Regions from separate parts of the Homo sapiens genome. Here regions 1, 2, 4, 5 and 6 are each linked to region 3. The links are contacts of gene promoters, found by promoter capture Hi-C in blood cells and fetal thymus (Javierre and others, 2016). All regions are on one chromosome and are shown on one strand. Each heading gives the region's core, a stretch centred on a gene start or on the middle of the fragment in contact. The rest is flanking DNA. Distances are from core to core; before and after follow the strand shown.

Region 1 (4,479 bases), core at 1,674-4,173, 1.1 Mb after region 3:
CTCTATCCAGAGGTTGTGGGGCTGGGACTGATAGATCTAACCCTCTAATCATGTGGTTGCCTTCTCTGGTGACCAGACCTCAACCTATCAGGAAATTCCAAGGGTTTTAGGAGTTCTATGCCAGAAACCAGGGACAAAGACCAAATATATAATTTTTATTATACCACAATACCATATGTTTATTTTAAGAAAAGAAGAAATTAAACTCCCTGTCTTCATAAGAAATGAGCACAGGCTGTCCTTTATATGCTTAGCTCCTCTAATGCTCACCAATACCCCAGTGCATTGTGAGGCTAATTTTCCAAAGCATATACCATGCATAAAATTAATATTCAACTAAAAAATCTAAAGTGAGACATAACAATCCCTTAAGACAAAAAACATGGAACATGTGATCAAAGTTTAAGCAAAAACATCATGTTTAACAGAAATAAAGCCTAACGTGGAGGATTTTTAAAAAAAATTATACTCTAAGTTCTAGGGTACATGTGCACAATGTGCAGGTTTGATACATAGGTATACATGTGACATGTTGGTTTGCTGCACCCATCAACTCATCATTTACATTAGGTATTTCTCCTAATGCTATCCCCACCCCGACAGGCCCCAGTGTGTGATGTTCCCCACCCTGTGCCCAAATGATCTCGTTGTTCAATTCCCACCTATGAGTGAGAACATGCAGTGTTTGGTTTTCTGTCCTTGTGATAGTTTGCTGAGAATGATGGTTTCCGGCTTCATCCATGTCCCTGCAAAGGACATGAACTCATCCTTTTTTATGGCTGCATAGTATTCCATGGTGTACATGTGCCACATTTTCTTAATCCAGTCTATCAACTGATGGACATTTGGGTTGGTTCCAAGTCTTTGCTATTGTGAATAGTGCCGCAATAAACATACGTGTGCATGCGTCTTTATAGCAGCATGATTTATGATACTTTGGGTACATACCCAGTAATGGGACTGCTGGGTCAAATGGTAATTCTAGTTCTAGATCCTTGAGGAATTGACACCCTGTCTTCCACAATGGTTGAACTAATTTACACTCCCACCAACAGTGTAAAACGTTCCTATTTCTATGTGGAGGATCTTAATTTGGAAAAAAAAATCAATCTCTTTCTCTGAATGAGGCATTCTGGACCAAAAAAAATGAAAAGTATGTTGCTTTGACGAGAAATATATTTTAGCTTAATATGCTTCAAAGACTCCTGTTATTTTTAATTTTATGAGAGTTTTATCACCATTATCCTCCTTATTCACGAGAAATTTATCAGATGATTTATTCTGGTCCTGCTAAGACTGCTTCCTAAATGGCCAAGGATAAAGGGGAATAATCCCAACCTTAATGCCGCAGTGTAAGTCACCTTGATTCCCTCCCTGCTCAGCTCTACCTGAAGACACTAAAACACAGTATATATTCCAAAGGAAAAAGTCACAGTATTTCCCTGGACAGAACCAGAAAGAGGGGAGAAATGGTTTGAAGCTTACTGATGATCAAACTGTAAAAGACTCAGAACTTGACTTTAAAAACACTCTTCTTGGCCAGGCATGGTGGCTCACACCTGTAATCCCAACACTTTGGGAGGCCAAAACAGGCAGATTGCTTAAGGCAGGCCAGGAGTTCAAGACCAGCCTGGCCAACATGACAAAAACCCACCTCTAATAAAAATACAAAAATTAGTCCGGCGTGGTGGCACGCGCCTGTAATCCCACGTACTCAGGAGGCTGAGGCATGAGAATCTTTTGAACGTGGGAGGTGAACGTTGCAGTGAACCGAGATCGTGCCACTGCACTACAGCCTGGGTGACAGAGACTGTCTCAAACACAACACAACACACTCTTCTTGAGGCTTTTTCTACAACTCTAGAAGGATTTGCAAGGCTAACAAACAATGGGCTAAATGACACTCAACGGGCCCTTAAAGTGTTGAAAAAAGCATATATGGCTTTTTTTTTTTCAAATCCATTTACATAACTCAGCAGCAAAGAGTTGAACAAACACTTAACCTAACTTCAACTTTCTCATCTGAAACTCTTGAAGTCAAAAGTGTTTTGGAAAATTCTTTAAATTTTAGAAAGACAACATGGCGCTCATACCTGACACACAGCTGACACCTTATAATACCTGTGAGGTCTGGGCAGCACCCTGTAATCAAGCATTAATATTTCTGCATCAAAAAGTATGAACTAAGACTATAAACAGCCTCACATCAGTTCAGGTAAAGATCTACTACCAAATGAATCTGTTGCAAATTTAAGGGGAAAAAAAAAATCTTGCTTTATAGAGCTTTTTGAGTTCGGAATTAGTAAGTGGATCTGTTAGTACCTACCATGTAGAACTGGCAGAATTAAATGAGAAAGGTGAGCACATGGCACGGTCTATAAAAGCCTGTGTGTAGTCTTCACTGCCTCAACTCCCACCAGCTTCTTCTGGTCCTTTGGAAATCAACCACTAATTCTCATGCGTGAAGCTTTCTCAGAACTAAAGGAGTAGGCCCTTAATCCTGCCCTCGGGCTAGTAATTCCATAGTAGGTTCTTGTCATTGATGGGAACATGTTCAATCTCTTAGGAATTGATGAGATTCCACAGGAGCGGAAAAAAGGCTTAGAATCACAAGAATATATATATAATAGCTGCAGAAATGTTTCAAGCTTCTTTATATCAAGTATAAATTATCAAGTATTCTTTAGGACTCAGAACTACCTTTAAAAAGGCTAATGCATAAGCCAGACATTAATTTATTAATATACAACAGGAACTGTTCCTGCCCAGTGACAAGAATATTCACATCCTCTATTAGGACACAGCTGCCCCACAAAGGGCATGTGAAAGGCCGATTCATGAATGAGAGTCTCTGGTAGACATGGGATCAGAGGAGTCTGATGGGAGGCAGTGGTATAGTAGCTAAGAGCACAGGCTTTGGAGTCAGAACCTGGTTTGAGGTCTTGCTTTGCTGTTTAGAACTGGGTAACCTACAGCAAGCACATTTTTCTAATGTGAGTTCTCCTCATCAACTACTTCATAAGGCTGTAAAGATAAATATGTGTGTGGGAGAGACTGGACTATGTCACCCCAAAGCATGCGTCTTTGGCATAAAAAGGTTCCTGCCTCCTCCCTCTCTACCAGGGAGAACAAAGGTTAACCACTAACAACTTTAGACCTTTATGGGCCAGAAGACAGCACCAGAGGAATCCACACTAACAAGCTTTGCTAACGGGCCTTTATCACCACTTACTTGCCTTCCCACAAGTTCTGCCCCTAGACAAAGTTCTTCCCCTTTGTCTTGTCACTTCTCTAAAAAATTACCATTCTTTGTTGAAGATACTACATAAGCTGGAATTCAAAGCCACCTCTGAGAATGACTCATCCCCTGGGTATCTCCCACACATATAAATGAAATAGATATGTTAGTAAGCTTGTTTTTCTCTTGTTAATCTGTCTTTTGTTGCAGGGGTCCTTTCCAACTAAGCACTCATGAAGGTTGAGGAAAAAAATATTTTTCCTCCCTGACATATACAAATATATAATTTACAAAAACGTTAATATATGTAGAGAGCTCAGCATGAGATCTGGCAGATGGTAAATTGCTCAATAAGGAGAAGCTACTGTCATCTTTATTTAAAGCTACAGTTTTCAAACTTTACATGTGCTAAGATTCACCTGGAAGAAGATTTATTAAAGTGTAAGAACCTGGGTCCCTTCCCCTCAAACGGCTGAGACTGGAGTAGAGCCAGGATTCTGCATTTTTAGCAACAAACCCAGGTGATATTAGTACAGGCAGTCCAGAGATCACACTTAGAGAAATGTTGATCTTGGACATGGAAAATCCTGGACGTCCCCTGCCCTGACCAATGTCCTTTTCTCTTGGGTCTAGGAGACACAGGCATTCACTGGATCAATGATGACTCTTCAGCTTAATGCTCACCGTCTCCCTGCATAGGGCTCAGCTTAGATGCAGTTATCCACTAAGATTAGGTTATATTTTAACTGTACCACAGCAGCATTCATCATCATAACGCTTCACTTTGGTATGTTCTTAACAATCATTAATTCCCTGAAATTACAAACTAGTTACCTTAACCTTGCTTGAGTGATCCTTCCTAACTTCTCAGTCCAAACAAATACTGAATTTCTACAGATGGCTAATCTTATCCACTGCATTTTAAAACTTTCTATTGTGGACCAGGTGTGGTGGCTCATGCCTGTAATCCCAGCACTTTGGGAGGCCAAGGCGGGTGGATCACTTGAGGACAGGAGTTCGAGACCAGCCTGGCCAACATGGTGAAACTCCATCTCTACTTAAAAAAAAAAAAAAAAAATTAGTTAGGCATGGTGGCACACGCCTGTAGTCCCAGCTACTTGGGAGGCTGAGGCATGAGAATCACTTGAACCCAGGAGGCAAAGGTTGCAGTGAGATAAGATCACACCATTGCACTCCAGCCTGGGCGACAGAGTGAGACTATGTCTAAAAATAAATAAATA
Region 2 (4,647 bases), core at 1,119-3,618, 1.4 Mb after region 3:
TGGGCCTTGCAGCCATAGAGTCCTGGGCTTCATTATGGGCCCTGCCACTAGTAAGTGAACTTGACAAGTTATTTAACTTTTCTGAGCCTCAGTGTCCTCATGGGGAAAAACAGGGCTAAAAATCTGTCTAGCTCATGGAGTGGGTGTAGGATTAAATGCAATATACATATAAAATGCCTTGCCATATAGTAAATGCTCAATAAAAAGATAGTAATTGTTATTACCATCGTTATTATTGAACAGCAAGTGATAAATTGGGATATCCTGACTGTCCTAAATTGTGTCAGAAATGTGGGATCTGGTTCATATTTATAGAGACTTCTTGTTCTTTCAATTGTTCAACCTAAAAAGCTTAGAGTTGTCGTTAAATCTTCCATTTTTCTCACTTTCCACAACCTGTCCATTGGATATTCTTGTTGATTCTACCTTATAATCTAGGTAGAGTCAAGCTACTTCATTTTTTTTTTTTTTGGCAAAATTCAGAAGACAATGTAAAATACATGTTATCAAATGCATTACAAATAACATTTCTATATTGATCAGTGATTTTTTTTCCTTTTCAACTTCTATTTTAGGTTCAGAAGGTATGTGTGCTGATATGTTACATGAGTAAATTGCGTGTCACTGGGGTTTGGTGTACAGATTCTTTTGTCACCCAGGTAATGGGCATAGTACCCAACAGGTAGTTTTTTGATCCTCACCCTCCTCCCACCCTCTATCCTCAAGTAGGCCCCAGGGTCTGTTGTTCGTTTCTTTGTGTCCATGTGTATTCAGTGTTTAGCTTCCACTTATAAGTAAGAACAGGCAGTATTTGGTTTTCTGTTCCTGCATTAATTCGCTTAGGATAATGGCCTCCAGTTCCATCCATATTGCTGCAAATGACATGATTTCATTCTTTAGTATGGCTGCATATTATTCCATGGTGTGTATGTACCATATTTTCTTTATCCAGTCCCCCATTGATAGGCATTTTGGTTGATTCAATGTCTTTGCTATTGTGAATAGTGCTGTGATGAACATATGCATGCATATATCTTTATATATTTTTTGAGACAGGGTCTCACTCTGTTGCCCAGGCTGGAGTGCAGTGGTGCAATCAGGGTTCACTGCAGCCTTGACCTCCTGGGCTCAGGTGATCCCCCCACCTCAGTCTTCTGAGTAGCTGGGACTACAGGGGTGTGCTACCATGCCTGGCCAATTTTTGTGCTTTTTTTTTTTTTTTTTTTTTGTAGATACAGGGTTTTGCCATCTTGCCCAGGCTGGTCTCAAACTCCTAGGCTCAAGCAATCCACCTGCCTTGGTCTCCCAAAGTGTCAGGATTACAGGCATGAGCCACCACACCTGGCTGCATGCACTGTGTCTTTATGGTACAATGATTTATATTCTTTTGGGTATATACCCAGTAATGGGATTGCTGGGTCTAATTGTAGCTCTGTTTCAAGTTCTTTGAGAAATCTCCAAACTACTTTCCACAGTGGTTGAACTAATTTACATTCACACCAGCATTGTATACACATTACCTTTTCTCTGCAACCTCACCAGCATCTGTTGTTTTTGACTTTTTAATAGTAGCCGTTCTGACAGGTGTGAGATGGTATCTCATCGTGGTTCTGATTTGCATTTCTCTGATCAGTGATATTAAGCATTATTTTCATATGCTTGTTGTCCACATACATGTCTTCTTTTGAGAAGTGTCTGTCCATGACCTTTGGCTATTTTTTAACGGAGTTGTTTGTTTTTTGCTTGTTAATTTGTTTAAGTCCCTTATAGATTCTGGATATTCCAGAATCTAGCTACTTCTTAACACCTCCATTGCCTTCTTAACGCCTCACTCTTGTCTGAGCCACTGTTGTCTCTCTCCTAGATGCTGCTACAGCCTCCTAGCTGGTCTCCCTGCCTCTCCATCCTTGATCCCTACAGGCTTCTTTCAACATAGTAGCCAGAGGGATCCCGGTAAAAATACAAGTCTGTCTGTGTCTCTTCTGCACTCAAAACACTCCAATGGTTCTGCAACTACCCCAGAGTAAAAACCAAAGTCATTCCAATGACCTAGGAAGCCCCACGTGCTCTGCTCCCTCCCTGATGCCTCTCTCTTCTCACCTCCTGCCAGTCTCTCCCTCATTCAGTTCATTTCAGCCACCTAGTTTATTTACTGTTTCTTGAACACACTGGGTACATTTCTACTTTGGGGACTTTGCACTGGCCATTCCTTCTTCCAATGCTCTTTTCCTAGATATTTGCCTGGCTAATTTCCTCTTCTTCTACAAATCTGTTTTCCAACGTCACCTTCTGTATGACCACTGTGTCTAAATATCAGTAGGCAACCCCTGCATGATTTCCAGTTCCCTGCCCACTGTGCTTTTTCTGTCTTTTCTTAGCACCTCTCCCATTTAACATACCATATGCTTTACTTATCATGTTTATTGCTTATGGTCAATCTCCCTCTTCTAGAATATAGGCTTCCTAAAGACAGGGATCTTTGTTTTCTTCATTGTTCTATCTCCAGTGCCTACAACAATGCCTGGGACATATTAAGCATTCATTAAGTATTTGTTAAAGGGGAAAATGAACCAAAGGGAAGGAATAACCAAAGGGAAGGAATAAGTTTTTTAAAAAAACTTTGTTGGAATAAGTTTTTTAAAAAAACTTTGTTGAAAAAAGTCTTTTCTTCCCATTTAAAAACGTGGTTTTGTTTCCGATTACAATCCAAATACACAAATTTTAAAGAAGAGTGAAATGATTTGCCATCATTGGACCCTCATTCCTTCATGGCAACTGTGGGCAGAGTAGAGAAAAGTTGCCCTCTTTAGATCAGGCAGACCCTCTCCAGTTTGCTGTGGTGCCAACTGAGCTCACTTTCCTCTTAGAATTCTGACACCTGGAGGTATCAGGGTTTGCTTCCTTTGATACACTTTGCTAGGAACTGGAGTGTCTATGCTCCCATTTGCAAGGAAGGAGTTCCGTTCCTGGGAGCTGGATCTTCCCCTCTGCCTGGGCTCTCTATTCATGTTTGCAGTAATTAGACACCAGGTTGATTGACCATGAAAGATAAGTTCTCAATCACTCCTGAACACATAAACATACCATGAGTACATGAAATAAAAATGTTACGTGCTGGGAACATCAATCAGAAGGGTAATGTTTATGTAGCATTGTTAATTGGATTTCTACAATGGGATATTCGGTGGGTTGGGGTTTATCTGATAACACCGTAGTCTGTGACAGCAACTTCTGTGACTCAGTGTGGCTTCAAGGTCAAGGAACTGAGCGTCCTCCTGACCAACAGGCTGAGGAGATTGTTGGGAGTTCTTGTGGGCCAGGCTCTTATCGGTGAGCTGTATGGAGAACACCATCTCTCAGATTTATCCATAATTTTAATGAATGCTCTGTTTGAGATAATGACCCATATCTTGACTTGCACAAAGCCCTGAAAATACTTCTACGAATTGTGTTTTATCTGAAGTACTGCAGCATGCAGCATCCAACATTACCATTGATATCATCTATTGAGAACTCTTTCCCAGGTTCTTTATTAAGGTTTAATTAAATTTTATGTCTTATCAATTAGGATTAATCTATATTTAGTCTGAATTAGAGGGAGCCAATTATAAATAACACCACTTCTCATTTATTCCTGAATACAAAATGAAGGTTTTTAAACTTTCTTTGGAGGAAAAAATAAAAAACCTCACAACCCCCCTGACTCAAATGTGTCCCTTTAAAGAGTTTTATGCCCAGGAGACCACAAATTCTATTATAATAAAGTGAAAAGATGATAATTCCTATAGGAAGGTGTTACAGACAGAAATGGGGGTCCGGAGGGAAAAGAGAGAGAATTTCTGTTATGATGTGGGCAATTGAAACAAAGAGATTTTCAACTTTAAAGTTTTCACTTGGAGCAATGGCACAAAGATAAACTGAATTTTCCAAGGTTATTGTGACATCTCTGTTTCTAGAAGAGGACAGACCAGCTTGTGCCCTGCGGTTGTGTTCAATGCTGTTAATTAAATATTTCCAATTCTGTTACTTCTGGGCACGAATTGGATCATACTCCTCCCCTCTCTTCACCTTGAAGTCAAATGTGGGCATGGGACTCGTTTGGTCAATGAAATGCAAGAAGAAGCAATATCTGTCAGTTCCATTTGGAAGCGCCCATATGGACTAGAGTGCAATTTCTCATGTTTTCTTCCTCCTGCTGCAGTGGTCATGGAAACACAATTCAGACAAAAGCCCCATTAGCCCAAGATGGGTGGCGTCTTCTCTGCCAGCCTGCATTGTTTGTGCAACATGAGCAAGAAGTAAACTTTTGTTGTGTTAAGCCATTGAGATGTTGAGGTTTTTGTTACTTCAGCGTCATGTAGCTTATCCTGCCTTATAGAAGCTCTATAAGCTTTAGTTTCTTCTAAGCTTTGGTACTGACTTCATTGGGTTGTTATATGAGGAAGAATAATGAAGTAATTAACAAAAAGTGTTTCATTTAGTGCTGGCACACAAGTACTCGGTAAATATTAGTGCTTCCTATTATTGTTGTTGTAGTTGGGGATGTCTATGTATTATGGCTAAATGATCCTATTTGGAATATTCTGATGGTATGTTCAAAGTTTATTTAAACTCTTAGTATTTCAATGTCTTGCCTTTCCACCTGAT
Region 3 (4,670 bases), core at 379-2,878:
AAGTTGCAGACCATCTATGTGGGTACACCAATGTTTTGTTAGTATTTGCTTGCTATAACTTTTCCATTTTTTGCTTTCAATCTTTCTGCAATTTTATATTTTAGATATGTCTATTATAAACAAGACATGGCTGAGTCTTCCACATCATAAATTTAGTCCATTTTCTTTTGTTTTTATTACAGATCTGGAAATTTTTTGGTCTTATATTGTACTCCTTATAGTCATTTTTCTATACTTTTTCTCCTTCCCTTGAGTTATTGATAATATGTTTAAGTTATTGATTTGAGATCTTTTTTCTTTCTCATATATGCATAAAAAACTACAAATTTTGCCCTAAGCTTTTCTTTAACTGCATCCTATAAATCTTGATATGTGGTATTTTCATTTTCATTCTGTTCCAAATATGTCTGATATAGGACTTGTATCCAGAGTATATAAATAATTCTTATAATTTATTAATAAGACAACCACTTAAAAATTGGGCAAAAAGATTTGAATAGAAGATGTAAGAATGGCTAATGGGCACATGAAAAGATGCTCAATATCTTAGTCATTAGGAAATTGAAAATTAAAGCCATAATAAGACCACTTCATATCCACTAGGATGACCATAAACAAAAAGATAGGCAATAATAAGGCTGGCAAGGTTGTGGAGAAATTGAAACCCTCATACGTTATTGGTGGAAATGTGAAGTAGTACAGCCACTTTGGAAAACAGTCTGGCAACTTCTGAAATTTAAATGTAAATTGCCATGCAACCCAGCAGTTTCACTCCTTGATATATACGCAAGACACATGAAAATATGTGTCCACACAGAGACTTGTACATCAGTGCTCATAGCAGCATTATTCATCATTACTGAAAAATGGAAACAACCCAAATATTCATCATATTCATGAAACATTGAATGGATGAAGAACATGTGGTATGTTAGCACAGTGGAATATTATTCAGCAGTGAAAAGAAAGAAACCATTACATGCTACACATGACAAACCTCAAAAAAGTATGTGAATTGAAACAAGCTATACACTAAAGACTATATATTGTAGGATTCCATTTGTCTGAAATGCCCGTAAAAAACAAATCTATAGAGACAGAAAGCAGACTGTGGTTTCCTGAGGTTGGGAGTGGAAATGGGATTGACAGCAAATGGCATGAGGGATCTTTAAGGGCTGATGGAAACTGGATTATGATAATGGGCATGCAACTCTATAAATGTCCTAAAAATCATTGAATTGTATGCATGAAATGGGTAAATTTAATGATGTTATACCTCAATAAAGCTGTTCTTTTTGGAAAAAACAGCTAGTGAACTAGAGTAGCTCTGCATTTTATTAAGAAATTATTTCTTACATCCTGTGCCTAGATGGCCAATATTACACTCAAGAAACTAATGGACATAGAAAAATTGAATGTACCTCCAAACACTCAAGATGAATACAGCAGTCTTCAATAGTCAACGTCATGGCCATTCCAGAGAGAAAAGGTCCAAGTTCAGTGCCTCGAACCTTGTTGCCTTCCGTGAAAGGAAGCAGTTGAAATGAGCTTTGCCCCTGGTGACACTCTTCCTTGTCACTAATTAACCAGCTCTATAGGAAGGTTGCTCCGCCAACACCTTGCTCTGCCTGGAGAGACATCTGGCCAAGTTCTGGTGAGCAGGAAAAATGTCTACTCGTTACCACCAAGCTGCTAGTGATAGTTACCTGGAACTTCTAAAAGAGGCTACCAAGCGAGATCTAAATCTTTCGGATGAAGACGGCATGACTCCTACTCTCTTGGCAGCCTACCATGGGAACTTGGAAGCCCTAGAGATAATCTGCAGTAGAGGGTAAGTTCAACCCGATGGTTTCTGTTGGAAACAGTGTTCATGGTAGGTTTTTGCAGACAGCAGCAAGAGGCAGGGACGTCAATACAAATACTTTATCCTCTTTCTAGATTGTCTAAATGATTGGATTTTTAGAGAAAGAGAGAAAACTATGCCTAGAGATGCTCTCTTTTCTCACTGAGGACTGGCACTATAGGAGTGGCTCATCCCTTAGCCACAATCAGAGGAGAGACCCTGAACTACGGCATTATCTGCATGGGGAAGAGGGAAGATATTTTAATTCTATGCCTTTAAAAATGCTTTTCATGAAATTTAAATAGTTTTCTCTTTTCAAAGAGGCCATTGTTTTACTTGGTTTTAAGTTGCCAACCTTGGTTGGAACAAATGACATGGTTTTAGTTTTTTTTTTATCTATGCCATCAAAATCTCACAGTCTTTTATTAACTTTCAATCCCAGTGCAAGCTCATGATTTTTTTATTTTTTATTTTTGACACAGGGTCTTGCTCTTTTGAATGGAGTTGCTGGCTCTACAAGGACTCTTTAGCCTATCTTAACTCTATCACTTCTTTGGCTAGTGGATAGATACACACACACACACACACACACACACACACACACACACCCCATCTCTTTGCCCAGATTTTAATGGAGGAGTAAGCTAGTTCCTCTGCTTGTTCTGCCTGTTATCAGAGGGCTAGGTTGTGTTGGCAACCGTAACCCAAGAGGGGTAAAGAAAGAGAAAAGGACAAGGTAAATAAAGGAGCCAAGTGAATCCAATTGAATACCCATTTATTCAGTATTTGTTATGTGCCAGCCACTTATCTCTTAAGATAAGAGATATTTTGCTAGCCACTGGGCACACTGTGATCAACAAGACAGCCACAGTCCCTGTCATAGTGAGCAGATTTGAGAGGGGAAGACAAGACATCTATGATATTTGTGTGTGTGTGTGTGTGCATGTTTGCTCTGAGACAGGGTCTCACTCTGTCACTCAGGCTGGAGTGCAGTGTCAAGATCATAGCTGACTGCAGCCTTGAGCCCCAGGCTCAAGTGGTCCTCCCATCTGAGCCTCCCGAGTAGCTGGGACAAGAGGTGTGCACCACCATGCCCAGCAATTTTTGTACTTTTTGTAGTGATGGGGTTTTGCCATGTTGCCCAGGATGGTCTTCAACTTATGAGCTCAAGCGATCTGACAGCCTCGGTCTCCCAAAGTGCTGGGATTACAGCTGTGAGCCACTGTGCCTGGCTCATCTATGATATTTGTTACAAAAAGGGAAATAGAGGGCACTAAATAGGCATCTACCTCAATCTCAGGGGTGAGGGAAGGCTTCCCTAAGGGGAAAGCATTTAAGCTGGGATTAGGAAAATGAGAACAAGTTGGCTAGACGAAAGAGTGTTTTCCCTAAGATGGAAAACTGCTCTAGTTCTGAGAACTAGAGAAGCTGAGTATGGCTGGATGTGGTTCAAGTAGGAGTGGGGTCAGGACAAGTATAAGAGATAAGACCAGATCACAAAGAGCCTTGTCAACTCTGGTAAGGACTTTATCCTAAGGGCCCAGGAAGCCATGTCTTGGGTAGGGAAGCTGCCAGAGTAGATTTATGTTTACAAAACTCACTCAGGTAGATGGATAACAGTCGGAGAGAATGTTTGGGGACTGTTTTAGTGGTCGAGATGAGTTGGACTAGGGTAGTGACATTGGGAATGGGAAGATATGGTTGGATTTGAGTGGCAGTTTGGATGTAGAATCAATAATGATTGACTGGATGTGGGCAGATAAAGGAAAAGGAGGGTTAAGGTCCCAGGTTTTGGATGTTGACACCCTTTATTAAAATAGGGGACATTTAGGAAGTGTCAGAAGAACCCAGGATTGGGAGAGTTCCTGAGTTGAAGATTGAATGAGAAAGTGAGTGAAGCAGATCTTCCCCATCTCTCTTGTCTGAATAAGACTTTCTTTTCTCAGACACATCGATCCCCATCAGCCAGCCTTCTCCAGTCATCTCATCTCTTCTCCTACTCAGCCTAGGGTTCCCCAGCTTTCTCCATCTACTGAAAGTCTACCTCATTCCACAAACTGCAAGATGTCAGTTACTTTAAAATCAAAGTATTAGCCTATTCTTGCATTGCTATAAGGAAATGCCTGGGCCTAGGTAATTTATAAAGAAAAGAGGTTTCACTGGCTCATAGTTCTACGGGCTGTACAGGAAGTATAGTAGCTTCTGCTTTTGGGGAGCCTTCAGGAAGCTTCCAATCATGGCAGAAGGAAAAGGCATCTCACATGGCAGAAGCAAGAGCAAGAGAGCAAGGGGGGAGGTGCTAGAAACCAGATCTAATGAGAGCTCACTATCATGAGGACAGTACCAAGGGGAATGGTGCTAAACCATTCATGAGAAATTCGCCCCCACGATCCAGTCACCTCCCACCAGTCCCTACCTCCAACATTGCGGATTACAATTTGATTTGAGGTTTGTTCCCCACCAAATCTCACAGATCCAAACTGTATCAACCAGTGAGTTTGTCCTCCTAGAAGAGGGTTTGGGGGTTCTGGGGTTCTTCTCAGCAGAGAGCTCTTGTTCCATTTGAGGACATTTTGAATAGTAATGCTTAGGTGTTCTCTCTCTTTCTCTCCTTTGAAAGCCTGAAATATTCTCTTACAATAACTCTTCTGCTGGTCTTTATTTATTTTTTATTTTTACTAGAGACAGGGCCTCGCTTTGTTGCCCAGGCTGGTCTCGAACTCCTGAGCTCAAATAATCCTCCTGCCTCAGCCTCCCAAAGTGTTGAGATTACAGGTGTGAGCCACAGCACTCAGCCTGGTTCTGCTAGTCTTTAATTACAAAAGTA
Region 4 (4,109 bases), core at 795-3,294, 1.2 Mb after region 3:
TCTCAAACTCCTGACCTCAAATGATCCACTTGCCTTGGCCTCCCAAAGTGCTGGGATTACAGGTGTGAGCCATCACACCTAGCCTATATATCTTTTTTTTTTTTTTTTTTGGAGACAGGGTCTTGCTCTGTCTCCCAGGCTGAGTACGGTGGCTCAATAACAGCTCATTGCAGCTTTGAACTCTTGTGCTCAAGGGATCCTTCTGACTCAGCCTCCCTAGTAGCTGGGACTGCAGGTGCACGACACTGTGCCTGGCTAATTTTTAAAAATTTTTGTAGAGACAGGGTCTCACTAGATTGCCCAGGCTAGTTTGAAACTCCTGGGCGCAAGTGATCCTTCCTCCTTAGCCTCCCAAAGTGCTGGGATTACAGGCGTGAACCACCGCATCCAGCCTTCTCTGAACCATTTTAAGTTAAATTGCAGATCTAGTGGCATGTCACCCCTGATAGTTAACCATGCATCTCCTAGAAATTAAAAAAAAAAACAAAAAAACAGAAAAAATGGCGACTGGACAGTTTTTAGTTTTGAGCGGGGGTAATTACCTGATTTGACTTACCTTTTTTTTTTTTTTTTTTTTTTTTTTGAGACAGAGTCTCATTCTGTTCACCCAGGCTGGAGTACAGTGGTGCAGTCTCGGCTCACTGCAACCTCTGCCTCCTGGGTTCAAGTGATTCTCCTGCTTCAGCTTCCTGAGTAGCTAGGATTACAGGTGTGTGCCACCACATCCAGCTAATTTTTGTATTTTAGTAGAGACGAGGTTTCACCATGTTGGCGAGGATGGTCTCGAACTCCTGACCTCAGGTGATCCGCCTGCCTTGGCCTCCCAAAATGCTGAGATTAAGGTGTGAGCCACCACGCCCAGCCTTGACTTACTTTTTAACAGCCTCCCTTGGGGTGCCAGCCTCCCTTGGGGTGCTGTGTAACGAATAGACTGAAAGGAGTTAGGAGAAGTCACATGGAAGAACCTGTTGATTAGTGACATGAGTTACAGCACAATTGATGGCAGCTAGAGGGGGTGAAGTCGAAAAGTCAATCAGGGCTGATGATGTGAAGGATCTGTACACTGGATTTAGAAGATGTATGTGCTTTTAATCCTATACATTAGGGTTTCACAAATATGATGAATTTTTGACATTTGTTATATGAGTACTCTATGTACTAATATTTACTCAGTATTTTTCTTTAAATTTATTTTAAATCACTAACTTAAAACAAATCTTAACTGCCATAAGAAAAAGCAACCATAAAATCATTCATTTGGTAGGTTTCAATTTTTCTAACGCCAGTAAAATAAAAAGAAATGGCTGGTGGCTCACTCCTGCAATTCTAGCACTTTGGGAGGCCAAGGCATGATCACCTGAGGTCAGGAGTTCGAGACCAGCCTAACCAACATGGTGAACCCCCATCTCTACTAAAAATACAAAAGTTAGCCAGGTGTGGTGGTGGGCGCCTGTAGTCCCAGCTACTCGGGAGGCTTAGGTATGAGAATCGCTTGAACCCAGGAGGTGGAGGTTGCAGTGAGCCAAGATTGTGCCACTGCACTCCAGCCTGGGCTACAAGAGTGAAATTCCATCTCAAAAAATAAAAAATAAAAATAAAAAGAACTATTATGTATCATGTAAAAATTATCATGTGTGCCAGCAGGGGTCCAGATGCTGTACTTTGGGAAAGACCACTCTAGGTAAAGGGAAATCACTGAAGATTTGAATGCATGAGACAAACATCATCTGAGCCAGGCATAGTGGCTCACACCTGTAACCCAGCACTTTGAGAGGCCGAGGCAGGTGGATTGCTTGAGGCCAGGAGTTCAAGACCAGCCTAGCCAACATGGCAAAACTCCATCTCTACTAAAAATACAAAAATTAGCTGGGCGTGGTGGCATGCGCCTGTAGTCCCAGGTACTCGGGAGGCTGAGGCACAAGAATCGATTGAACCAGAGAGGCAGAGGTTGCAGTGAGCTGAGATGGTGCCACTGTACTCCAGCCTGGGCAACAAAGCAAGACTCTGTCTCAAAAAAAAAAAAAAAAAAAAGAAAGAAAGAAAAACATGATCTGAATTTTGTTTTAGAACAATCTGTTTATAGTGTAAAAGAAGCACTGAAGGCTTAATTACTAAATGGAAAAATGAAGGCTTAACTACTAGTTGCCTACTATATCATAAGTGCTCAGAATATGAAGATAAATAAAATAGGTTGCTGCAACTAGCTGTTTACAATCTAGTAAAGGAGACAGACATGAGGAGAGATTTTTGCAGCACGAAATAGTAGATACTATGATTAGAAGTATATATAAGATATAATGGTGGCTAAAAGGTGGGCATGATCATCACTGTCTTGGGAACCAAGTCCAGGAAGGCTTCACAGAAAAAAAAATGCTTCAGCCAGGTTTCAGTGGAGGCATAAATACTGTGCATGGGGCCAGGTGCCATTGCTGATGCCTGTAATCCCAGTGCTTTGGGAAGCTGAGGCAGGAGGATCCCTTGAGGCCAGGAGTTTGAGACCAGCCTGGGGAACATAGCAAGATCCCCTCTCTACAAAAAATTGAAAAATTTGCCGAGTATGGTGGTGCACAGCTGTAATCCTAGCTACTTGCTAGGCTGAGGTGGGAGGATTGTTTGGGCCTGGGAGTTGGAGGCTGTAGTGAGCTATGATTGTGCCACTGCACTCCAGCCTGTGTGACAGAGCAGGATCCTGTCTCAATAATAATTATAATAATAATACTGTGCATGGAGATTGGATGTATCCAGTGAAGAGAAACAGTATAGACATATGTGCAACGCATAGATGTGTAAAATGATACAGCATTCATTCAACAAATATTAACACCTACTACGTACCAGGTCCTGTGCTAAACCCAAAGGAAAAAGAGGAAAAGATGCAGCCCCCACTCTGAATAAGCTCACAGTCAATTATAGTGAGAATCTTAATGTTGGATGCTAGGTGCTATTACAGATGTAAGTGTGGGCTGTTGAGGGAGTGCCCACTGGCTTAGCATACAATTCAGACTGAGGAGAAAATAAATGATCTCTCTAATGAATTTTGAAAATTCATAGTAGCAGGGAGTCTGTGCAAGCACAGAGAGGCATGAGGTTGTAGGACATGATTGGAGGAATGGCTGATGGTTTAGTAGTAGAGCTTGAGAAGTGTAGACCTGATCCTAAAAGGAAAGGAGCATTATAATTATTAAACCAAGAAGTAATAATATCAGATTTGCCTTTTAAAAGATAACCCTGGGCTGGGCGTGATGGCTCACGCCTGTAATCTCAGCACGTTGGGAGGCCGAGGTGGGTAGATCTCTTGATCTCAGGAGTTCGAGACTAGCCTGGGCAACATGGTAAAAACCCATCTCCACAAAAAATGCAAACACTAGCCGGGCATGGTGGCATGCACCTGAAGTCCCAGCCACTTGGGAGGCTGAGGCAGAATAATTGCTTGAACTCGGGAGGTGGAGGTTGTAGTGAGCCAAGATTGCGCCACTGCACTCCAGCCTGGACGACAGAGCCAGACCCTGTCTCAAAAAATAAATAAGTAAAAATAAAACATTAGGCCGGGCGCGGTGGCTCACGCCTGTAATCCCAGCACTCTGGGAGGCTGAGGTGGGCGGATCACGAGGTCAGGAGATCGAGACCATCCTGGCTAACATGGTGAAACCCCGCTTCTACTAAAAATACAAAAAGTTAGCCGGGCATGGTGGTGGGCGCCTGTAGTCCCAGCAGCTCGGGAGGCTGAGGCAGGAGAATGGCGTGAACCCGGGAGGCAGAGCTTGCAGTGAGCTGAGATTGTGCCACTGCACTCCAGCCTGGGTGACAGAGCAAGACTCCGTCTCAAAAAAAAAAAATAAATAAATAAATAAAATAAATAAATAAAATAAAAGATTACCCTGAAGTGTGTTTTGAAGGGATGTTAGCTGGATTGCAAAGAACAGTTAGAAGGCTAACAAAGTGATTTTATATGAGGAATGCTGGTTCCACTGGTTAATATTGTGCATGGGGCCAGTGTGGTGGCTCACGCATGTAATCCAAGCCCTAAAGCAGTGGAAGACAGAAGGCAAGAGGAGACTGACATGAGAGATTAAGGAGTTAGAACCGCAGAACTCAGTGGTATCTCATTA
Region 5 (4,134 bases), core at 110-2,609, 1.2 Mb after region 3:
ATTTTTTCTGTGGCTACTGTAAATAGGATCGCATTCTTGATTTGGTTCTCAGCTTGAACATTATTCATGTAAAGAAATGCCACAGATTTTTGTACATTGATTTTGTATCCTGAAACTTTACTGAAGTCATTTATCAGTTCCAGGAGTCCTTTGGTGGAGTCTTTAGGGTTTTCTATGTATAGAATCATATTGTCACCAAAGACAGATAGTTTGACTTCTTCTCTTCCTATTTGGATGTAATTTCTTTCTTTCTTTTGCTTGATTGCTCTGGCCAGGACTTCCTTCTTTCATCTCTTGATGGACATTTGGGTTGGATCTGGTTTTTGGCTGTTACAAATAAAGCTATGAGCATTTTGTGTCTTTGTATGGATATATGCTTTCCTTGCTCTTGAGTAAATACCTAGGAGTAGAATGGCTGGGTTGTATGGAAGGTAGATGTTTACCTTTCTCTTTACTTTTTTTTTCCTTTTTTTGTTTGAGACAGAGTCTCATTCTGTCGCCCAGGCTGGAGTGCAATGGCGCAATCTCGGCTCACTGCAAGCTCCGCCTCCTGGGTTCATGCCATTCTCCTGCCTCAGCCTCTCGAGTAGCTGAGACTACAGGCTCCCGCCACCACGCCTGGCTAATTTTTTGTATTTTTATTAGAGATGGGGTTTCACCATGTTAGCCAGGATGGTCTCGATCTCCTGACCTCGTGATCCGCCTGCCTCGGCCTCCCAAAGTGCTGGGATTACAGGCGTGAGCCACCACGCCTGGCCGGTATGTAGTATCTTACTGTGTTTTTGATTTACATTTTCCTAATGACTACTAATGATGTTGAGCATCTTTTCATATGCTTACTTGCCATCCATGTATCTTTTTGGTTATTTATTAAAATAATTTGTGTCTTTTTAAATTGAGTAATTAGTCTTCATATTATTGAGTTGTAGGAGTTATTTGTATATTCTAGGCACATGTCTTTTGTCAGATATATGATCAGTAAATACTTTCTCTTAGTCTCTCTTGGTTACTAGTTGTTAAGAGAAGTATAGCCAAAAGATTTTAACAGTCATTTTTCTTAAGCCCTCACAAAAACATAGGACTTTCTATTGATCTCAATAAAAAATTATTATAAAATGGAAATCCAGGTCTGGCCCAATGGCTAACACCTGTAATTCCAGCACTTTGGGAGGCTGAGGCAGGAGGATTGCTTGAAGCCAGGAGTTTGGGACCAGCCTGGGCAACACAGCGAAACCCTGTCTCTACAAAAAATAAAAGAAAATCCAAAGTTGCTTGAAATTTATTCTTAATTTCTAGAGAATTAACACGTGTAAATTATTGTGGTAAAAAATGACAGCTTGGCCAGGCGTGGTGGCTCACGCCTGTAATCCCAGCACTTTGGGAGGCTGAGGTGGGTGGATCATGAGGTCAGGAGTTCAAGACCAGCCTGCCAAGATGGTGAAACACTGTCTCTACTAAAAATACAAAAAATTAGCCGGGCGTGGTGGTGGGTGTCAGTAATCCCAGCTAGTTGGGAGGCTGAGGCAGAGAATTACTTGAACCTGGGAGGTGGAGGTTGCAGTTAGCCGAGACGGTGCCACTGCACTCCAGCCTGGGTGACAGACTCTGCCTCAGACAAAAAAAAAAAATAATGACAGCTCATTGGAATCTGTTGTTCTTGTTATTCATTTGGCTAAGTCTCTTTAACACTTTATTGGATAAAATAATGAAGGGTGAGCACTATGTTTTCATTTTCTCTTTCTCTCTCCGTCCTCCCTCCCTCCCTTTCTCCCTTCCTCTTTCTTTCTTTCTTTCTTCTTTCTTTCTTTCTTTCTTCTTTCTTTCTTTCCTTTTCTTTCTTTCTTACCTTTTCTTTCCTTTTCTTTCTTTCTTTTCTTTCTCTCTCTCTCTTTTTCTTGAGACAGTCTCTCTCTCTCTCTCTCTCTCTCTTTTTCTTGAGACAGTCTCGCTCTGCCACCCAGGCTGGAGTGTGATGGCATGGTCTCAGCTCACTGCAATCTCCGCCTCCCAGATTCAAGCAATTCTCCTGCCTCAACCTCCCAAGTAGCTGGGATTACGGGCATGTGCCACCATGCCTGGCTAATTTTTGTATTTTTAGTAGAAATGGGGTTTCACCATGTTGGCCAGGCTCGTCTCCCAACTACTGACCTCAAGTGATCCACCTGCCTCGGCCTTCCAAAGTGCTGGGATTACAGGCGTGAGCCACCGCACCCAGCCCTCAGGCTGGTTTTCTTTTTGAGGAGTTGAATAAATAAAGGAGAAAAGGATGAATAAATACTCTGTCTCCCTAATAACTGTTGGTATAGGTCTGTCACTCTTCCATATTACACTCCCCAGAGAGGCAGAGGAGTAACTGGGTTAAGAGCATGGATCTGCAGTCTGCCCAGGAGGAGCCTGGCTCTCCACTTACTAGCTGTGCAATCCTAGGTAAGTTACTCAACCTCTCTGTGCCTTAGTTTCCTCATCTGTAAAATGAGGATCAAAATAGTACCTACTGGTCTGGGCACAATGGCTCCCAGTACTTTGGGAGGCTAAGGTGGGAGGGTCACTTGAGCCCAGGAGTTTAAGACCACCCTGGGCAACATAGCGAGACCCTGTCTCTATAAAAAATTTAAAAAAATAGCCAGACATAGTGGCACACACCTGGAGTCCCAGCTACTTGGGAGGCTGAGGTGGGAAAATCGCTTGAGCCCAGGAGGTCAAAGCTGCAGGGAGCCGTGATTGTGCCACTGCACTCCAGCCTGGGTGACAGAGCAAGACCCTGTCTTAAAAAACAACAAAAAAATAGTGCCTACCTAAGGAAATTATTATGAGGGTTAAATGAATTAAAACATCCAAAGTACTTAAAACGGTTCCTGGCACAAAATAAACCCTCTAGAAATGTTAGCTCTTATTATGTACAGCCAACTCAGTGCAGCAGGTATCTATTAGACTTTCACTGTGAGCACAGCACTGCCTTTATCCCTCTGTCTTGATGTAGGCTCCTTTGCCACAGGTTTGCCAACACTTATGTTGGAACACACTGTTGAATGGGGAGCCAAAATCTTTCATCTGTAGAAGGCTTTATTTTAGTTAAAAAAAAAAAAAAAGGCGGTCTTTCTCTTTTCTTTCATGATTTTTGTGATACTACTCATCATTGGCTTATATCTTTTTATATATTGGACACAAGAAAAATAGCTACCAATTATTAAGTGCCTTATATGTTGAGTATGGTGCTAGGTAAGAGAAGAGAAATGGAAGAGAGCAAGAGTGAGAGAGAGAGAGAGAGAGAGAGAGAGAAAGTTTGTCTTGGTGGGGGAAATGCCTCTTAGGTAAAGTAACTTGTCTGTGAAGAAATAGCTGGTAAAAGTGGCAAAGCTGGAATTTAAACCTAGGGACATCTGATTTCAAAATCTTTCACTTTTTAGCCAGACGTGGTGGTGCATGCCTGTGGTCAGCTACTTGGGATGATTGCTTGAGCCCAGAAATTTGAGACCAGGCTGGGCAGCATAGTAAGACCTTGTCTGTAAAAAAAATCTTGCACATTCCACTCTACCACATATTTCTTACATTATTAACTTCTTGTATTTTGTATGTTTATGTACTAGAGATGGAGAAACAGCAGCTGCATTTCAATATGTGGAAATGTGTTCCTTTATAATATTATAATAATATTTAAGAATATAATTGGACTTGTTGGGGTATTTTATATACTTCCTCTTACAGAACTCTAAGAAATGCCTTGGACCACATCAATCACTGATCCATTGTTTTTTAGTATCCAGAAAATGAACTCTTGTTCCTTGAAAGTAGAAAAGTCAGTCAAAAAATCAGTCAGGGTAAAAAAAACCCTTATGTTTATTAAAGAACATCTGTATTCTACTTACATCATTCAAAATTCTCTTCTAACTATAATGCACATACTTTTGGTTAGTGAAAACTTATCAGGGATAAACAATGTGTGCTTTTTTATTGAAAACAAAGAGTATCTTCTGATCTTTGTTAATGTACATATGTATATTTAGCATAAACTTTTCAGTCTAGAACAATGAACTTTTTCACTGATAGCAAGAAATGCAAAAAACCTAAGTCTGAGCTCTTAAAATGAATCTGTTATAATGATAAAAACATATAAAGTTAGGCAGGGCACAGTTA
Region 6 (4,726 bases), core at 115-2,614, 1.5 Mb after region 3:
ATAGAATTGATATGGGGACTGTGTTTAACAGAATGCCTGCTTGCCTCTAAAAAGGTGACCTATGATTAATGTTGTTTTAAGAAATGATGATGATGATTTTTTTTTTTTGAGATAGGTTCTCTCTCTGTCACCCAGGCTGGGGTGCAGTGCCATGAACATGACTCACTGCAGCCTGGACCTTCTGGACTTAAGTGGCCTCCTGAGTAGCTGGGACCACACGTGAATGCCACCATGCTTGGGTAATTTTTAAAATTTTTGTAAAGAGAGGGTCTCACCATGTTGCCCAGGCTGATCTTGAACTCCTGGGCTCAAGGAATCCTCCTGCCTTGGGCTCCCTAAGAGTTGGGATTACAGGTGTGAGCCACCGTGTCTGGCCAAAGTAATGATTATTGAATGTATCATAGGTATCTAGGTAAGAGAGTGACCATACGAAAAAATGGAAGAAGCATGACTGGTTATATGCTCAGTTCTCTGAATCACCCCCTCCGACTCAAGTTCCTCATTTCTAGATTTTTTCCTTCCTATAAATTAGCTTGATCTTTCCCTGGTATGACTCCTACAACTCTGCCCCGGCCTCCAAGTCTAAGTGAGCTCTCCCTATTGTGCTCAAATCCTGTCCTTTTCCCACACCAGATCATTTTAACCCTTGCCATTCTTCAAGCCAACAATTCTCCCAACAATTTATTTCTTCCGCTCCCACCACTCCAGTGCTCAGTCAGTGAGTGATTCTGGGAAGAGTGGTCTGGCTGGGTTGGATGGCCAGGTCTATTTCAAGTTCATCTCAGCTGTCTGGTCATTTTTTATTTAAAAAAAAAAAAAGCTTTGGGAAGTAGTCTATTTAAACACACGTAAGCAGCTGTTCCTCCCTTTCCACCTGCTTTCATCCCTTTCTCAGCAGATGGGATCATCATCTATTTTATTGAAATAACAATAATACCCCCAAGTTTTGTTTTGTTTCATTTTGTTTTTATGAGACGGACTCTTACTCTGTCTCCCAGGCTGAAGTGCAGTGGCACGATCTTGGCTCACTGCAACCTCTGCCTCCTGGGTTCAAACGATTCTCCTGGCTCAGCCTCCTGAGTAGCTGGGATTACAGATTTGCGCCACCATGCCTGGCTAATTTTTGTATTTTTAGTAGAGATGGGGTTTCACCATGTTGCCCAGGCTGGTCTTGAACTCCCGACCTTAAGTGATCCACCAGCCTTGGCCTCCCAAAGTGCTGGGATTACAGGCATGAGCCACTGTGCCCCGCAAATACCCCCAAGTTTACTGACCTCTTAACTATGTTAGATGCCAATCTAAGCCCCTTTAATGGATTATCTCCATTGTCACAATAACTCCTACGAAGATAGTACTGGGACTATCCTATTTTACATATAAGGAAAGTTAGGCTCAGAGATATGGAATGATTGACAAATGTCCAACAGTAGAGCTGAGATGTGAATCCATGTTAACCTGATCCCCAAATTGAAGCTCTTACCCACTTTTACTGAAAAGCCGTTTGGATTCTTTAGTCCACCTACTTTCTATCTCTGCTTAATGGGCTGCAAGATGCCCATTTCACTGAACTTGTTTCTCCTAAGGACCTGCAGGCTGCTTTGCTGAATGCTCCTCCTCCGCCTTGATCCTGCTTTGGCATTCCAAACTGCTGGGTTTGTGATCCTTTTTGGATCTCTTCACTAGTTTATGGGGCTCTGCATGCTCTTGGCTCTCCAACAACCACTAGAACTTCTTACTGACCGGCTGTTTTCATTCCATCCCTTAAATGTCAGCATGTTCTGAGGTTCTGTCTCAGCCTTCCTTGCAGGCTACACATTCTCCCTGGGTGACCTCATGTCCTCTCGTAGCTCCAGAATCGTTGCTTCTTAAATAATCTCTCTGTTAATTTTTTAGTCCCTGCTTTTATTTGAAGCTTCTGATCTGCCTTTCTAACCAGTGGGTGTTCTGGGAGTGCTTCAAAATCAGCTTGACTCAACTCAATGTCATCTTTCCCGAAATACTCTCTTCACCCGTGTTCCTTAGCCTAGTAGTAAAAACAGTCTACCCAGTCTGGACTTTAGTTAACAAATTCTGTTTATTTCTCCAAAGCAGTACCAGCGATTATTCCTCTGGAAAGACCTCTGTCTCAGCTCAATTTTCCTCTACCATTTGACTGGACTATTGCAATAATTTCCTAAGGGTCTCTCTGTCTTCAGAATCCTCACTGCTATCCATCTCCAAAGACATAGACCTATTTATGTTATTTGGCATCTTGAATTTTTCCTGCTATATATTTCATAAATACCAGATTTCTTGGACTAGCATTCCATGACCTTCTCATATTGCCCACACTGACTTTGCTAAGTTTATTTAATTATTAAAAGTACTATGTGGGGCTGGGCGCAGTGGCTCACTCCTATAATACCAGCACTTTGGGAGGCTGACGCTGGAGGATTACTGGAGCCAGGAGTTTGAGACCAGCCTGGGCAATATGGAGAAACCTTGTCTCTACGAAGAAAAATGCAAAAATTAGCTGGATGCGGTGGCACGCCTGTAGTCCCAGCTACTTAGGAGGCTGAGGTGGGAGGATCGCTTGAGCCCAGGATATGGAGGATGCAGTGAGCTGTGACTGCACCACTGCACTACAGCCTGGGCAACAGAGCGAGATCCTGTATCAAAGTCCCAGCTACTTAGGAGGCTGAGGTGGGAGGATCGCTTGAGCCCAGGATATGGAGGATGCAGTGAGCTGTGACTGCACCACTGCACTACAGCCTGGGCAACAGAGCGAGATCCTGTATCAAAAAAATAAATAAATAAAATAAAAAGTACTATGTGATAATTACTGATAGAAAAGCTCTTCATTTTTATAGGTTTATCTTACAACCATACAGCATCTGAAATTTCTACTTTAAGTGGTAGATATAATGGATCACAGTGATAGATTCTCCTGCATCAGCCTCCCAAGTAGCTGGAATTACAGGTGCCCACCATGATGCCCAGCTATGATGTTAAGCCATTCTTGTGCTCCTAATATAAGTGTATTATTCTTTTGATGAACTGATGAGCTTAATTTTCTAATATTTATTTACAAATGTGTATCTGTATTCATAAATGAATTTGTCTGTGGCTTTCTGTTTTTGTGCTTTCTTCATCAGGCTTAACTAATAAGGTGATTCTAATTTCATAAAAGTAGTAATATCAAATATGTATGCATGTGGGCCTTAATAGGCACCAGACACTGTTCTAAGCAGTTGATAGTTATAAACTCACTTAATCTTCACAACAATCTCCATGAAGTAGAGTTTCCTCGTCATTTAACAGAGAAGGGAGTGGAGAAAGGAAGAGAATAAATAACTTGCCCAAGGTCACACAGCCAGTAAGTATTATAGCCATGACTTGAACAAGGCAGAATGGTTCTAAGAGCTTTGTGCAAAGTGCTTTGCTAACTTCTTCGAAGTCATAGTCAACTTGGGGAGTTTCATTTTTTTCTGTAGTCTAAGATACTTTAATAATATAGGAAGAATTATCTTTTTTTTAAGGCTTGGTAAACTTGGATGTAAATCTATGCAAGTGTGGTGATTTTTAAAATGGTAGATCTTGACCTTTCCAATCGTTCATGTTATTGATCTGTTTAGGTTTTCTTCTTCTTTGGTCAATTACTTAAGTTTTAATTTTGTTAGACTTTCTTCAATTTCCCTTTGATATTTAAATCTGTTGCCATGGCCTTGCACAGATTTGAAGATATTGCTCCATTGTTTTCCAGTTAATATTTGTTGTTAATTAAAAATGTGATGCCAATCAGATTATTGTCTCCCCTATACTTTCTATATTGATTTCTTTCTTTTTCTTTCTAATTCTTTTTTTTCTCTCTCTCTCTTTTTAGTAGAGTTTCTCTGTGTTGCCCAGGCTGGAGTGCAGTGGCGTGATCTTGGCTCACTGCAACCTCCACCTCCCAGGTTCAAGCAATTCTCCTACCTCAGCCTCCCTAGTAGCTGGGATTACAGGTGTGTGCCACCATGCTTGGGTAATTTTTGTATTTTGTATTTTTTTTTTTAATGGAGTCTAGCTCTGTTGCCCAGGCTGGAGAGCAGTGGTGTGGTCTCGGCTCACTGCAACCTCTGCCTCCCAGGTTCAAGTGATTTTCCTGCCTCAGCCTACTGACTAGCTGGGATTACAGGCACCCACCATGATGCCCAGGTAATTTTTGTATTTTTAGTAGAGATGGAGTTTCACCATGTTGGCCAGCTGGTCTCGAACTCCTGACCTCAAGTGATCCTCCTGCCTTGCCTCCCAAAGTGCTGAGATTGCAGGTGTGAGCCACTGTGCCTGGCCTAATTTTTGTATTTTGGTAGAGATGGGATTTTTCCATGTTGGCCAGGTTGGTCTTGAACTCCTGGCCTCAAGTGATCCACCCACCTCGGCCTCCCAAAGTGCTGGGATTATAGGCATGAGCCACTGCATCTGGCTTCTTATATTGGTTTCATGTTGATGCTGTAGCAAATTACTACAAATTTAGTGACTTGAAACAACACAAATGAATAGGTGTGTAGAAGTCTGAAGTGGGTCTCACCGGGCTGAAACCGACAGGTGGGTAGGGCTGCATTCCTTCTGGGGGCTTTAAGGAGAATACATTTATTTGTCTTGGTCAGTTGTAGAGGTGATGCATCTCCAGCCCAGAAATAGGGCTTTATAGACAGGGAGTCACACTCTCTGTCTCTCTCTCTTTTTTTTTTTTTTTTTTTTTTTT

The links. Contacts are between HindIII fragments. The CHiCAGO score rates a contact against its expected background, and 5 or more counts as called.
Region 1: a contact is called between a fragment that was not itself captured here and the fragment with the promoter of ANKS4B in region 3, in 1 of 17 cell types (erythroblasts). The highest score is 5.8, in erythroblasts.
Region 2: a fragment that was not itself captured here is called in contact with the fragment with the promoter of ANKS4B in region 3 in 4 of 17 cell types (fetal thymus, monocytes, endothelial precursors and 1 more); the score reaches 10.7 in fetal thymus.
Region 4: a fragment that was not itself captured here is called in contact with the fragment with the promoter of ANKS4B in region 3 in 1 of 17 cell types (total B cells); the score reaches 5.2 in total B cells.
Region 5: a fragment that was not itself captured here is called in contact with the fragment with the promoter of ANKS4B in region 3 in 1 of 17 cell types (erythroblasts); the score reaches 5.9 in erythroblasts.
Region 6: a contact is called between a fragment that was not itself captured here and the fragment with the promoter of ANKS4B in region 3, in 7 of 17 cell types (total CD4 T cells, naive B cells, total CD8 T cells and 4 more). The highest score is 14.2, in total CD4 T cells.

What each region holds. Positions count from the first base shown.
Region 1 is chr16:22,350,429-22,354,907 of GRCh38, forward strand. All of the region lies in intron 2 of CDR2 (cerebellar degeneration related protein 2), which reads right to left. Among named protein-coding and RNA genes, the nearest start is that of CDR2, 22 kb to the right of the region's middle. The HindIII fragment of the contact is 554 bases long and covers 2,647-3,200 here.
Region 2 is chr16:22,644,050-22,648,696 of GRCh38, forward strand. No RefSeq gene overlaps it. Among named protein-coding and RNA genes, the nearest start is that of LINC02890, 33 kb to the left of the region's middle. The HindIII fragment of the contact is 4,039 bases long and covers 350-4,388 here.
Region 3 is chr16:21,232,071-21,236,740 of GRCh38, forward strand. ANKS4B (ankyrin repeat and sterile alpha motif domain containing 4B) reads left to right here and starts at 1,629. Exons shown (of 2, transcript NM_145865.3): 1 at 1,629-1,831. The coding sequence starts at 1,668. It overlaps LOC105371123 (a long non-coding RNA gene), which reads right to left and starts at 1,532. Exons shown (of 2, transcript XR_001752344.2): 1 at 1,422-1,532. The HindIII fragment of the contact is 3,732 bases long and covers 337-4,068 here.
Region 4 is chr16:22,413,076-22,417,184 of GRCh38, forward strand. No RefSeq gene overlaps it. Among named protein-coding and RNA genes, the nearest start is that of CDR2-DT, 40 kb to the left of the region's middle. The HindIII fragment of the contact is 7,565 bases long and covers 1-4,109 here.
Region 5 is chr16:22,394,290-22,398,423 of GRCh38, forward strand. It overlaps the pseudogene SLC68A2P. Among named protein-coding and RNA genes, the nearest start is that of CDR2-DT, 21 kb to the left of the region's middle. The HindIII fragment of the contact is 7,194 bases long and covers 1-4,134 here.
Region 6 is chr16:22,693,317-22,698,042 of GRCh38, forward strand. No RefSeq gene overlaps it. Among named protein-coding and RNA genes, the nearest start is that of LINC02890, 82 kb to the left of the region's middle. The HindIII fragment of the contact is 1,092 bases long and covers 819-1,910 here.